Linked DNA regions of Homo sapiens: region 1 is linked to region 2. Evidence: promoter capture Hi-C in 16 types of primary human blood cells and fetal thymus (Javierre and others, 2016). All regions are on one chromosome and are shown on one strand. The core of a region is centred on a gene start or on the middle of the fragment in contact, and the rest is flanking DNA. Distances in the headings are between cores, read along the strand shown. Region 1 overlaps WDR11 (WD repeat domain 11). Region 2 holds the start of NSMCE4A (NSE4A component of SMC5/6 complex).

The links. The method cuts DNA at HindIII sites, captures the fragments that hold promoters and counts their contacts. A CHiCAGO score of 5 or more calls a contact.
Region 1: a fragment that was not itself captured here is called in contact with the fragment with the promoter of NSMCE4A in region 2 in 1 of 17 cell types (total B cells); the score reaches 5.1 in total B cells.

What each region holds. Positions count from the first base shown.
Region 1 is chr10:120,879,738-120,886,565 of GRCh38, forward strand. WDR11 (WD repeat domain 11) reads left to right here. Exons shown (of 29, transcript NM_018117.12): 13 at 1,089-1,164; 14 at 4,043-4,151; 15 at 6,077-6,201. Among named protein-coding and RNA genes, the nearest start is that of WDR11, 32 kb to the left of the region's middle. The HindIII fragment of the contact is 1,289 bases long and covers 2,930-4,218 here.
Region 2 is chr10:121,970,033-121,977,054 of GRCh38, forward strand. It overlaps NSMCE4A (NSE4A component of SMC5/6 complex), which reads right to left and starts at 5,185. Exons shown (of 11, transcript NM_017615.3): 1 at 4,842-5,185; 2 at 3,972-4,049; 3 at 907-1,037. The coding sequence starts at 5,133. LOC124902517 (a long non-coding RNA gene) reads left to right here and starts at 4,835. Exons shown (of 2, transcript XR_007062322.1): 1 at 4,835-6,123; 2 at 6,256-7,022. RefSeq lists a silencer at 4,587-5,386 and an enhancer at 4,824-5,619. The HindIII fragment of the contact is 9,349 bases long and covers 1-7,022 here.

The sequences.
Region 1 (6,828 bases), core at 2,324-4,823, 1.1 Mb before region 2:
ATAATAATAGTGAGTATAGTGAGATTCCACATGATGGAATCTCAACAAAGAGTAGGAAGGCGTTTAGGCCTTCAGTTGTCCTTGAATTGAGTATGTTCTCTCTTTTGTTTAATGTAGATAAAAATCTAACACAAGATACTAAAACATACAAGGTAGAATTTATACTTTTTTTATTCACAGAAAATCATGTAACTTCCTTTGCGGGTAACTCATTCTTTCACAGCATACATGAACACCGTAGTTATTCCCTAGTTTCCAGTTTATAAAGATGTTTTGAGAGGAACATGTTCAAAATATTTAACTAGTATTTTGCACATGGGACAAGAAGATCTTAAATACATGTTTCAAGAGTTTTTCCCCCACTAGTTAGTATTTGGAAACATGGGAATGTTTGTATTAAATATTACTTTAAATAAGTAGTTTTCGCACCAGACAATTGCTGTACCATAAATATCTTAAAACTTAACATTGTTTTTTTAAATTTCTAAAATTGAATTATAGAATTCAAGAAACTGTGTGACAAATGAAAATGCCTTTTTACAAAATAAATATCTGAATATGTGATATATTATTGATCATTAGTTTGTAACACTTTTAAGAATATTCTTTGAACTTACATTATTAGAAACAGCTTAGAAGGAACTGGGCGCCGTGGCTCACACCTGTAATCCCAGTGCTTTGGGAGGCTGAGGCAGATGGATCACTAGAGGTTAGGAGATCGAGACCAGCCTGGCCAACATGGTGAAACCCCATCTCTACTAGGAGTACAAAAATGAGCTGGCGTGGTGGCGAGCGCCTGTAATCCCAGCTACTCGGGATGCTAAGGCAAGAAAATCACTTGAACCTGGGAGGCGGAGGTTGCAGTGAGCCAAGATTGCGCCATTGCACTCCAGCCTGGGTAACAAAGTGAGACCATCTCAAAAAAAAAAACCCGAAAAAACAGAAACAGATTAGAAGCAAATGGAAGAATGAATAGGAGAACAGAGGGTAGGATGGGTAGGACTGATCAAATTACATTGGCGTGGCTTCTTGTTTTTCATACATGTTTTATGCACTGTTCTCACTTTTTTAAATATTTGCAATTAAAGGTAGGAGCATTGCTTTTCGTGGTGAAAGAGGCAATGATGAATCTGCCATCGAAATGATTAAAGTATCTCATTTGAAGTAAGTGTCAACCTAAAAAAAAATCTATGGTGTTATCACAATGAAATCTCGTGGATTTTTTTAATCTTTAAGAAAATGGGAATGTGCTGGAATGCATATGGAATCTTTTTAGTGATAGCAAATGGTGATATGCAGCCCAAAGAAAATATTTTGATTACAAAATTAAGTTGCTATCACTTTTAATTCTCTACTTCTAAAAAGATGAAGTAACTTTTGCATGAATCGTTATTTACTTTCGGATAAAGTTCTTATGTACTTCTATCTAAGCATGGAGTTACTGAGTGAAAGAACTCATTTTCTTTATGTATAATTTAAACTCATTTTGCTTCCAGAAATTGAGTTTTTTTGTTTCAGGGGAAAATAACATGTAAAGCAGTATTATTAAAAATAGAAACTGAATGAAAATCAATCAAAATTACAAAGAAAGAGTAAGCTTTCTAAAGTAGTTTTCAAACTTGTTTTGGCTTTTCTAAGATCTTTGCATTTCCATATAAATTTTAGAATCAGACTATCAGTTTTATCAAAAAATCTTCCTGAGATTTTGATTGGGATTGCATTGAACCCATCAATCAGTGAGGGGAAGAATTGGTATCTTAACAAGTTTTGTAACTCATGAACATGGTATGTCTCTCCACTTATTTAGGTCTTTTAAAATTTCAGCAATATTTTGTAGTTTTCAGTGTGTAAGTCTTACATATTATTTGTTTATTTTGTGTTTTCTTTGATGCTTTTATAAATGACATTTTTAAATTTCAATTATTTATTATTTGTATATTAAAATACAGTTAATTTTCTGATATTGACCTTGTGCCTTGTGACCATGCTAAGCTTAGTTATTACTTCTAGTATAGGTGCTTTTGTTAATTCTTTAGGATTTTCTATAGAGACAGTCTCGTTTGCTAGTAAAGACATCTTTACATCTTTTCGATCTATAGGCCTTCTTTTTGCTTGCACTAATTAGGACCTCCTGTATAGTGTTGATTAGAACTGAGATGTCAGCTACGAGCTGACATCTTTGCTCTGATCCTGGACCTTATGGAGAAAGCATTCAGTCTTTCAACATTAAGTATGATACTAGCTGTAGATTTTTTGTATATTTCCTTTATCAAGTTGAAAAAGTTTTATTCCTAGTTTGCTGAGCCTTTGTATTATGAGTAGGTGTTGAATTTATCAAATGCTTTTTCTGTATTCATTGATATCATCATATGGTGTGTGTGTGTTATTTTGTTTTTCTTTTTGAAGTTCACTAATATGGTGAATTACATTGATTGATTTTCAGATGTTAAGCCAACATGACATTCCCGGAATAAACTCTAGTTGGTCGTGATGTATTACTGTTTTGACATATTGCTGGATTTGATTTATTGATATATTATTAAGAGTTTTATGATATATTATTAAGAGTTTTTATATCTATGTTCATGAAGGATATTGGTGTCGTTTTTATGTAATATCCTTTGTTTTGGTATCAGGGTAATACTGACCTTGCAGAACGTGTTGTAAAGTATTCTCTCTCCTTTTTTTTTGAATGAGTTTGTGTAGAATTGATATTATTCTTACTAAATGGGAAAAATTTATTAGGAAACCCATCTGAACCTAAAATTTTCTTTGTGGCAAAGTTTTTAAATACAAATTCAGTTTTGTTTTTTTTTTTCATAAATATAGGACTATTTAGATTCTCTTTTTTTGAGCTTTGGTAATTGGTGTCTTCCAAGTAATCTGTCCATTTTGTTGAAGTTGCTGAGTTTATTAATTTATTGAAATAAGCTTGTTCATCATGGATCTATGATCAGTGATTATCTTTCCCACTCCTAATATCAGTAAATTATATCAACCAATTTTATTTATTGATCTTTTCCAAGAAACTACTTTTGATTCATTTGATTCTTCTCTATGATTTTTCCATTTTCAATTTCATTGTCTGTCATGCTTATCTTTTGTTCTTCTGCTTACTTTTTAAATATGCTCTCCTTTTTTTACATAGTTTTCTAAAATAGAAACTTAGATAATTGAATTAAGTTGATTCTCTAAAATGTAATGTAAACAGTTAATGCTATATGAGCACCAGTTTTCCTGTATCCTACAATTTTTGTTATGGTTATATGTTTTCATTTTAATTCACATTATAATCTTTAAAAATTTCCATGGGGTGTTATTCAGAGGTATATTTTTTAACTTCAAACTATTTGGGTGTTTTGCCAGGTATCTTTCTGTAAATTTCTACTTTCTGTTGGGGTCACACATGGTCCTGAGTGGAAGAATCTCAGTCCTTTGATACAGGGAGTACAGGGATCTTCCTACTCTGTCACATTTCCTCTATGTCAGCCATCATTTGCTGATAATATTTTAGTTCCTCATAATGCTTATTGAGTAATCAGTGCTCAAATTATATTTGTTGAATTGCACTCGTTGATGTCATTCAGTACTTCTTTCAGGCTTAACAGAAAGTGAATAAAGTGGCATTTGTTGAATACCAACTGTAGTAGAATGATAGAAACTTTACATACTTTTTCATTGAATGTTTACCATAATCTGTATATCAATTAATTGAGGTACATGATGAGATTCTCCTGTCATGTGTGAGAAGTTGAGCCTCAGGAGGGTTAACATAAGTTGTGGCATCAGGGTTTGAATCTATGCCACTCTTTCTTCCAAGTTGGACTCCTTGCCTAATTGTGTGAGACTGTATGTTCTCTTACAGGTCACTTAGAGCTTTACCTTCTTATGACTGTTAATCATGGTGCTAAATGGTAGTTTAAATTGTCTATATTTAGAATGCGTCAGCTGAGTTTTTCAATTTACTGAACTTTTTATTTGCTCTAATTCATGGTGAAATTTTTGCAAAAAGGGGCTTATTTAGTAATTTTGTTTATTTTAGGCAGTATTTGGCAGTCGTATTCAGAGATAAACCCCTGGAGCTATGGGATGTTAGGACTTGTACCCTTCTTAGAGAGATGTCCAAAAACTTCCCTACAATAACTGCTTTGGTAAGTTACAATTTAAGAATTTAATAGCTTATTTAGGTATATATGTATGTGGTGAATGTTTTGCTTAAGCTTGAATCAAAATCATTACTGCCAATGTCATTTTTTTGGTTAAAAATGTGTGTTCAGAGAAGATGATCTAAATAAATGGAGATAATTCTTATTTTCTTGGATAAATCAACCTAATATCATATTAGTGCAATTCCAATTCAAGTTTCATTTGGATATTTTGAGGAATATGGTAAACATATTCAAAAATGTTTATGAAAGAATAAAGGTCCTAAATAGCTAAGTCATCCTTGAATAAAGAGGAGTAAATGTGGGAGGTGTGGGTGGGGTTGGCCCTTCCTACCTGATATTAGTACATCTTACAAAACCATGGAAATAAAATCAGTATTGTATTGGCACAAGAATAGAAAGTGAGTCAACCTAATAAAGAGCTCAGGAACAGACCCATGAATATTTGGGGACTTAATATACAGTAAAGTAGCACAAATCAAAGAGGATGGACAGACTGTGTAGTAGACGGTGTTGGGAAAACTGTCTCACTTTATGGAGAAAAATACTTGATCTCTACTTAATACCGTATAGAGAAGTGAGTGTCACAGGACTAAAGACCTAAATGTAAAAATGTAAAGCTATAAAATTGAATATAACAAAATACAAAATATTGCTGTGACCTAGAGGCAGGAGGAGACATCAGAAGCTCAAACCAAAAGGCAAAAAAAAAAAAGAAACAATGCATTTAATTAATCAAGATTAATGCTTTTTGTTTGATGAAGATGTCAAAGTTAAATACAGAAGACATTTTGGGAAAACAAATTTTCCAGTGTCTAAATTTAACTAGAAACTCCTGCAAGTCAACAGTGAAAAAAAGCGGGAACCCTAGTGAGAAAATGAACAAAGTCTGTGAAGAGCTAATGAGAGGCAGAGAAACCTAAAAGGCCAACAAGCCATATAAAGGAATGTTCAAACTCATCAGTTTTCAGAGATGTTCAAACCATGATATGGATCTACCGTTTAGACTAACAAAAACTGGACAGCCATATAGTGTTAAGTACGGGTGGAACATAGGGTATGGGAATCCTTGTGCATTGCTGGTAGGAATGTAGACCAATGCAGCCATTCTGTAAAGCACGCTGGCAGCACTTGGGCAAACACAGACATCTTCTGTGTCCGCTGAGCTCTTGGTCGTAAATGAACTTTTGCAAGGATATTGACTGGTGTGTTTTGTCATGATGTGAGTTTGGAGACCATCTGTGTGTTTTTACTGAGAGAGGAGACAGATTAACAATTGGCTGATGCACCCATGGAGTATTACGTAGCATGCAGAAACAGGAGGAAGAGGACTTAAATACAGTGGAAAGAGTAAGAAACAGGATGAAGTATATATATATATATACACACACACACACACACACACACATATAAACACAATACTATTTAGGTAAATTAGATAATAACTACATGTTAAGAACTTATACATATGCGAGGATATTGGACTAAAAGGCTTTACAATAGGTGGAATATAAAAGAATATATAAATAAAACAAGTGATTTTGGAGGAATCTATGGATGATAAAGGACCCTGGTTCGAGAACTGTGATTGTCTTATCGTGTGCACATAAGAGATGGGGGAGGAGACGAGGAATAGGCAATACTATCATTGAATTCATTATTTTCATTTTGTAAGTATTTTATAAAAACATCAAAAGGTCAGACCTTTTGGAAGTTTGCCATAAAAGCTCCAATTAAAATGCATTCATTTAGCCTTTCTCTAAGTAGGTAAAATCTAAAGAACAAATGTGGATTCATGTGTAGTAATAATAAATGATACTGGGCAGTGGTGTGTGTGCCCAGCTCTTCTGGACGATTCTTTGACAGAAGGAAACCTAGCACTTCTAGGTTTGTCTGCATTTGCTTTACAGGAGTGGTCACCATCTCACAACTTGAAGAGCCTGAGAAAGAAGCAACTTGCAACTCGAGAGGCCATGGCCCGCCAGACCGTAGTCTCAGACACAGAGCTGAGTATTGTTGAATCATCTGTGATCAGGTACAGTACAGTGTTTCTTGACACTGTCATTTGTGCCATTAGCATCATGTCTGGGAAGTTGACAAGTATCATCGGAAGGTGTCTATGGTAGCAAGTTGGACTCTGCTTTTGAACATACTTAGTTTCATCTTTCAGTACATACCCAGATTACTAAAAAGATAATTTTATCATTTTTAGTATTGTACTATACTGTTTGTTATAACTAATAACATATGCAGTAATATTCACCCATCAGCATCTAGTAGTAAATGTGCTCATTCCGAGTGCCCTTCTACTCCATACACTTCAGCTTCTGAAATTCAAATGAACATAGCATAGACATACAGATAGATCATATTATCATTTATACACACCAAAGAAAATGTGTTGGGAATCCTAAATTTGTGTATCATCCCCATCCATACCAATCTTACAGATAAAAGGCTTCAGAGATAATGTTGGGTCACTGTACAGCCTCCCTTCTGTTGAGCACAGTTCTATAGCCAAAATCTCTATGAATTTTATTTTTCTTGTGTTAAGTTTAGATCACCATTTCTCTCTGTGCAGGGTAAACTTCCTCTGATGTTGTGGCTGTTAAGGAGTGATTCATGTTTACCCATAATTAGCTGGGCAAATATTAGTTTCAGA
Region 2 (7,022 bases), core at 3,935-6,434:
AAAGACAACAAAGTGAGATACAAGGTCAGTCTCTGTGTGCTTTTTCTTTTTTGGTAAATTCATCAAGGAACAGTTTTAGAATTGCAGGTAACCACTATTCAAACTTGTCAAGAGACAAAGAAAGGTGAATAAAACATAAAACCAAAAAAGCAAAACCTGGCTGGGCTAGGTGGCTCACGGCTGTAATCCCAGCACTTTGGGAAGCCAAGGCGGGCAGATCACGAGATCAGGAGATCCAGACCATCCTGGCTAACATGATGAAACCCCGTCTCTACTAAAAATACAAAAAATTAGCCGGGCGTGGTGGCAGGCGCCTGTAGTCCCAGCTACTTGGGAGGCTGAGACAGGAGAATGGCGTGAACCCAGGAGGCAGAGCTTGCAGTGAGCCGAGATCACGCCACTGCACTCCAGCCTGGGCGACAGAGCGAGACTCTGTCTCAAAGGAAAAAAAAAAAAAAAAAAAAAAGCAAAACCCAATCATATTCACATGGTTTTGAAATATTCTCAAAGACAGACCAAAACATGCCCTCTCGCCAGGCCTAACTCAATTCCAGCTGAGCTCTGCCATCGCAGAGTGGGCTTTTGTCCAGCCCAGGACAAAGGTCTGAGGTCACTGAGAATGATCTAGAACACCAGTGAACAGAGGAAAAATGGCCATTGGCAAATGACCATAGCACCCAGCATCTTAAGACAGAATGCTACGAGATTTTTACTCCAAGCCCCCACCCAAGATTCCACCACATGGTTCTACTTTCGTCTGTTTAAATTGGTAAGATCTCTACAGAGGAATCTGAGACCAAAAAAGAAGAATGAAGTGAAATCATCTGCATATGGATATGAGCACAGTAAATAATTATAATATATAACAGAACATTTTTTATTCAGAGTCTGTAGCTTTGAACTTACTAGAGTTTCAACATATCTTAACATGTCAAAGGAGCTCAGGTCTGAGCGCAGCTGCTTTGCTTTCTCTTTGCCCAAATCTGAAGCCAAAACAAGAAAGTGGGCATCCAGGACTGCTTCTCTTGCTCGGGACACTATTCAAAAAAGAAAGAAAATATTCACATTACAAAATACACATTATCCATAGACTTTTTCCCTACATTTCCAACTACTTACCAGGATTTCCCACTGGACTAAAAAAAAAAAAAAATCTCAATAGGCAACTGACACATCTCCTTCTAAAACGTGCTCCTGGCCAGGTGCGGTGGCTCAAGCCTGTAATCCCAGCACTTTGGGAGGCCAAGGCGGGCGGATCACGAGGTCAGGAGATCGAGACCATCCTGGCTAACACGGTGAAACCCCAGCTCTACTAAAAATACAAAAAATTAGCAGGGCGTGGTGGCGGGCGCCTGTAGTCCCAGCTACTTGGGAGGCTGAGGCAGAATGGCGTGAACCCGGGAGGCAGAGCTTGCAGTAAGCCAAGATCGCGCCACTGCACTCCAGCCTGGGTGTCAGAGCAAGAGGCTGTCTCAAAACAAAAACAAAAACAAAAAAAAACTTTCTCCTGTGCCCAACTCACCAAAATCTCTAATGAAAGCTGACCAGTCTTCCTAAAAGCCAGCTTTCTGTCTAGTTCTCCTACTGTTAGCTGAATCACAATCTCTTAAATAACTCCAGTTGAGCAAAACCCGTCATGTCTAATACTCACTTTTCCCTCCATCCTAATCACGATGATCATGTGTGCTGACGTAAGGAAAATCAAATTCCCACTACATGTAGGGCCCTGTGCTTGGCATGGTGGTTTGTGAACAGCAATAGGTAAGCTGCTAAGCAATAGGTAAGTTGCTAAAGTTGCTAACCAAAATCATGGCATGTGCTAGGCTGGCACTAGGAGGCTCATGCCTCTGTATGGCTTCACAGGCAACCCCAGCAAAGCCACCCAAATGAACAGTCTACAGGTAGCAGGTAGTGACCCGAGGACGGATACTCAAAAAAGGCTTGACAGAGGACATGGGATTTAAGAAAAGCTATGGAAAAAAAAGATTTAAATTAATGCAGAAACAGGCTGGGCACAGCAGCTCATGCCTGTAATCCCTACACTTTGGGAAGCCGAGGCAGGCGGATCACTTTGAGCTCCAAAGTTTGAGACCAGCCTGGGCAACGTGGTGAAACCCCATCTCTACTAAAGAATCAAAAATTAGCTGGGCATGGTGGTGCACACCTGTAATCCCAGCTACTCGGGTGGCTGAAGCTGGAGAATAGCTTTAACCTGGGGGGGGCAGAGGTTGCAGTGAGCCAAGATCATGCCACTGCACTCCAGCCTGGGCGACAGGTGTAGGTGTTCCCAGACTATTTTTCATACTCTCTGTTGCCTGCAGGGTCTGATTAAGCAACCCCCTCAGCCCCGCTGTTTCCTTTTGTTGATCCCTTCTTTATCTCCCATGAGTATCCTGTGCCTGCCTGCCCCACTCCCTTCCCCTTTCATTTATTTATTTATTTTACAAACTGAGACCATCAAATCCATGAATGCCAGCATCTGTTGTTTGCTGAGCAACTCCTAGGGCTCCAATGAGTGAATAATTTTGCTCTAAAATATTGCTTTAAATACTGGAAATAGCTGAGGGGGGAATGATGTGGGGATAAAGAACTGACTAGATGCACAGTAAATATCAAGGGAGTAATTGAGTCAAGTCAAGCAAGACTAACAGTAAGGAGACTGGGAGTCCAGGCTGCGAAGGGAAGACAAAACTTAAGAGGGTAGTAGAGGGATTTAACCAGGTGAAGGAGAAACACCCGGTTCCTGAAGGTTTTGATGAGAGTTAGCAAATGCGGTAGACTAAGATGGGGAATGGTAAGGAGGCTGTGGTCAAAGAAATTGGAGAGCATATATAAAGTGATAAAAGGAGACATTTAAAGAACTAGTCATCCTCAGCAATGACTAAAAATATACGTTCTAGTCCTTTAAGAATATGAGGAACCAGCCGGGGGCGGTGGCTCATGCCTGTAATCCCAGCACTGTGGGAGGCGGAGGCAGGTGGATTACCTGAGGTCAGGAGTTCGAGACCAGCCTGGCCAACATGGCGAAACCCGTCTCTACTAAAAATACAAAAATTAGCTGGGTGTGATGGAGCACACCTGTAATCCCAGCTACTCGGGACGCTGAGGTAGGAGAATTGCTTGAACCTGGGAGGTGGAGGTTGCAGTGAGCCGAGATTGTGCTACTGCACTCCAGCCTGGGCAACAGAGACTCCATCTCAAACCTCAAAAAAAAAAAAAAAAAGGATATATTTGGCTGCATTCTCCCCTATGTTCCCACAGACCCGTCAGAGAGGGCTGGAGGGGACAGTGGTCTGGGTAGTAGTCCTGTGGCTCTATGACCAAGTACCCACATCAGGGAGTACCCCTCTGTCACCAAGCAGACAGACAGCTGCTACCAATACCACTGCCTCTGCTTTCAATTCAAACTAAGGTTATTTTTTAAAGCACCCATGGCCTAGAGTTCAGTGCTCTGGGATCTCTCTCACTCACTCACTCACACACAACACACCCCAGACTGGAGACCAGCAGGTACACTTGCAGGCTTTGCCACCTCCATTGTGTTACACGTGGACCAATAGCAGGGAGCTGAGGAAGGCAAAACAGAATGGGACAGGAAAAGAAACAGGATTTCAGAGGCTAGCTCAGTTCTGTAATTCATCCACTCAACCAATGTATACTAGGGATACGGCAGTAAACACAAGAAAAAGAAACAAGATAACACATGTAACGTTCTCAAACTTGAAGAGGCAACAGAATCAACTGGGGGCTTAACACAGACTGCGGAACCTACCCCCAAATTTTCATGTAAAGCCCTTATTATATGGTAAGTGCATAATAAAAATGGCATTATTGCTATAATGAAACGGTTCCCGAACTGGGAAAGCACTATTACAAATGTGGGAATTGTTTTATGTCAATAATTTGGCGCTTATGTAACACTAATTAAAAGTATCATAAAACACGAAATAACATATAAAATAACAAATTACCTTCATTAAACAGAGTGTTAGCCTCTTCAAGGACCTCTGTTAATTTGTCACCGGCATTCAGTATGTCCTCACGGTTTTCTATTTTTAAAAATACAAACTTTGGGAAATTTGTTCAGCATTCACTAATAAGCAGTTGACAAGGTTATCACCTGCAACAGTAAAGCCAAGCCCCGGCCCCTGCGCTCTGAGTAATTACTTCGAACATCTTTATCTTTTTAACCAAAATGACCCGGAAAAGGAGAAAGGCCACCCTACCCTTTATGCAGCATGAATTTTAAAAGGAAACCCTAGCTCCCTCTAACCTTAACCCAAAGGGCTGGACTCCGGCTGCAGCCTCTGAGTGCTCCATAACTGAGTGGTTCTCAAACTTTGCAAGCAATACACACCATCACCTGGAGGGCCACTCCACAGTTGCGCGGACCCACCCAGAGATTCGAATTCCGCGGGTCCGGGTGGGGTCCGAGAACGTGCATTTGACAGCTCTCGCGTGCCGCTGCAGCTGCAGCTGCCGCTGCGAGGCCGGGAGCCCACGCCGAGGACTGCCGGGCGCAATCAAAGCACGCGGAGTCCGCGTCCTGCCTCTCCCCACTGGCTGGCTGGGCTCGGGCGAGTCCGCGAACGGCTCTGGCCTCCAGCTTTTCCAGCCCGCCACTCGGGGACCCGCGCCAAGGTCGTACGGCTCCAGCCACAAAGTGGGAGCACTTTGTCAACAATTTAAGGTGCGGCGAGGGGCTGGCACCCGGCGCGTCTCTACTAACGCCGCGCCGGGCCTCCGCCCGGCACCTGCCTCCGGTGCCCTCCCCCCGCGCCCGGCGCAGGGCGGGGACAGCGGCCCGTCCGGGCCCGCGCCGCCCGGAGGCGCCGCCTTACGTTGGACGGAGTTGATGAGCGCCCGGTACTGATGGCGGATCTGGCGGCACAGGCCTTGGTCGGCCTCCGCCTCCAAGCTGGCCGGGTCCATCATCTCGTCCCCGGAATCCGACGGCTCTGTGTCCTCCAGGCTCGGGCGCTCTGGGGCCTCTCTGCGCTCCCGCGCAGAGCCGCGGCGGGACCTGGGCGACAAAGGGGACCGCGAGCGGGAGCGGGAGCGGGTGCGATCCCGATGCGGGTCGCGGCCCCGGCCCCGGCCCTCTGGCCCGCGGCCGCTGCTGTCCCCAGACATAGCGCCAATTCACCGTGCAACTTCGGAACGGCGGAAGTTCGCGCCAGAAACTGAAACCCCTGCTCTGCGCCAGCGCCTGCTCCCGGCGGAACGCGGCTCCCGGGCCCGCGCGAGCGCACAGCGACGCCTGTGGCTGGAGGCCGGCGACGGGCCCGGCCGGGTCTCCAAGGCGCCTGGGGGGACCGCTGGGTGCACAAGAGGGGCCTGGCGGGGATCCTTTGTTCCCTTGACAAGAGGTGTAATGAGCTCTTACTCCACACTGCAGGGCTGTGAGAATCTTGGTTTTCTGCCCCTACTTTCCCACCCTCCTGGACCTGCATCTTCCCTAGGTCCCTTTGCCTGCCCAGGACACAGCCGCAGCCTGGCACCCACATGGGCACGCAGTCCATGTGTGTTGAACGAGCTTCCTGCTGTGGAGCAGGATGAGCGCGGGATGTGGAGTCCAGACGCGGTCTGCTGCTCACCTGCGACCTCAGTTTCCCTGTGCCATCATGGCTGGGGTCGGGGGGGTGGGGAACAGGGGTGGGTGGATGAATCAAATATTTATGTGCAGCTGGCAATACCATTTTTTGTGAGGATAGCAGAACAAATTAACAGGTAAACATCCTTCTAAATATCTACAACAGAATGTCACCAGAGCACCAGGGTTTTGTTCTAGGACCCGCTGCCCCCTCACAGAAATCACTGAGAAAACCATTATTACCAAGGAAGAAGGCTTTAGTAGGGTGCTGCACTCAGGGAGTTGGAAGCTCAGTCTCAAATCCATTGCCCTGACCAACTAAAATTAAGGGTTTATACAGTTGCAGGGAAGCAATGTAACAATGTATGGGAAAAGAGGAACTCGGGAGGGGGAAGGAAGCTATGGGGATGCATGAGGGGCTTGGCATCTCATTGTCTGGAATGCGGTGATATGGCGAGTTTCAGTTTTTTGATACTTTTTGAGAGGCTCTGGAGGTCCTTTCCTGAGGAAGGAACTCAGATAAAACAAAGGTAAGTTTCAACCTTAAGACTAGAAATGATAATTTCTAAGTTTATTAAAAAAATAGTAAACAGTCTATGGGATTGTTGGGTTGATTTTAATGACAGTCTATGTTCACATTTGATTTTTTTTTTTTTTTTAAGACCTTGCTCTGCCGAGGCTGGAGTACAGTGGCACTATCTTGGCTCACTGCAACCCCATCTCCTGACCTCAAGTGATCCGCCCACCTCGGCCTCCCTAAGTACTGGGATTACAAGCATGGGCCACCAGGCACAGCCTGATTCTGATTCTCAAACTAGAAGATTCTAAGAATACCTCCTGAAGGGCCCAAGAAAGATGGAATTATGTTAAGTATACTTTGAAAGATAAATGTATGAATTTCACTCCGTGCATTTTGGATTGTATTCGAGTATTGTTTCCCAAAAGTTGTCTTTGGTGCTAAGAACACATTTTCTCAAAAGACCAATATTATAAGTTGGGTTATTACACAACCTACAAATATTCCATTTTGTGCATCATGTCTACTAAACTTAAGTTAGGCACTGTTCATTGCTGTCCAACAGCTACTACCTCACCCATCCCTGCTTATCTGTATTTCCTGAAGGGGACGTGTGTGCCTACTTCCTTAGATGAAACGTGATCACTCTAACCAGGTCACGGTAATGTCATTCCCCTTCCCCAGTGACTGGTCAAGGGTCATGTGATGCAACCTGGGTCCGTGAGATGTGAAAGGGTTTCCCAACTGGATGGAATACAAACCTTCCTGAAAAGAAAACCCTTGACCCCCTACCCCCTTTGAGATGGCTGGCATAAGAAATGGGGAACCTGCCAATTAGCGGGCATAATGGTGCGTGTCTGTAATCCCAGCTAATCGGGAGGCTGAGGCAAGAGAACTGCTTGAAGCTGGGAG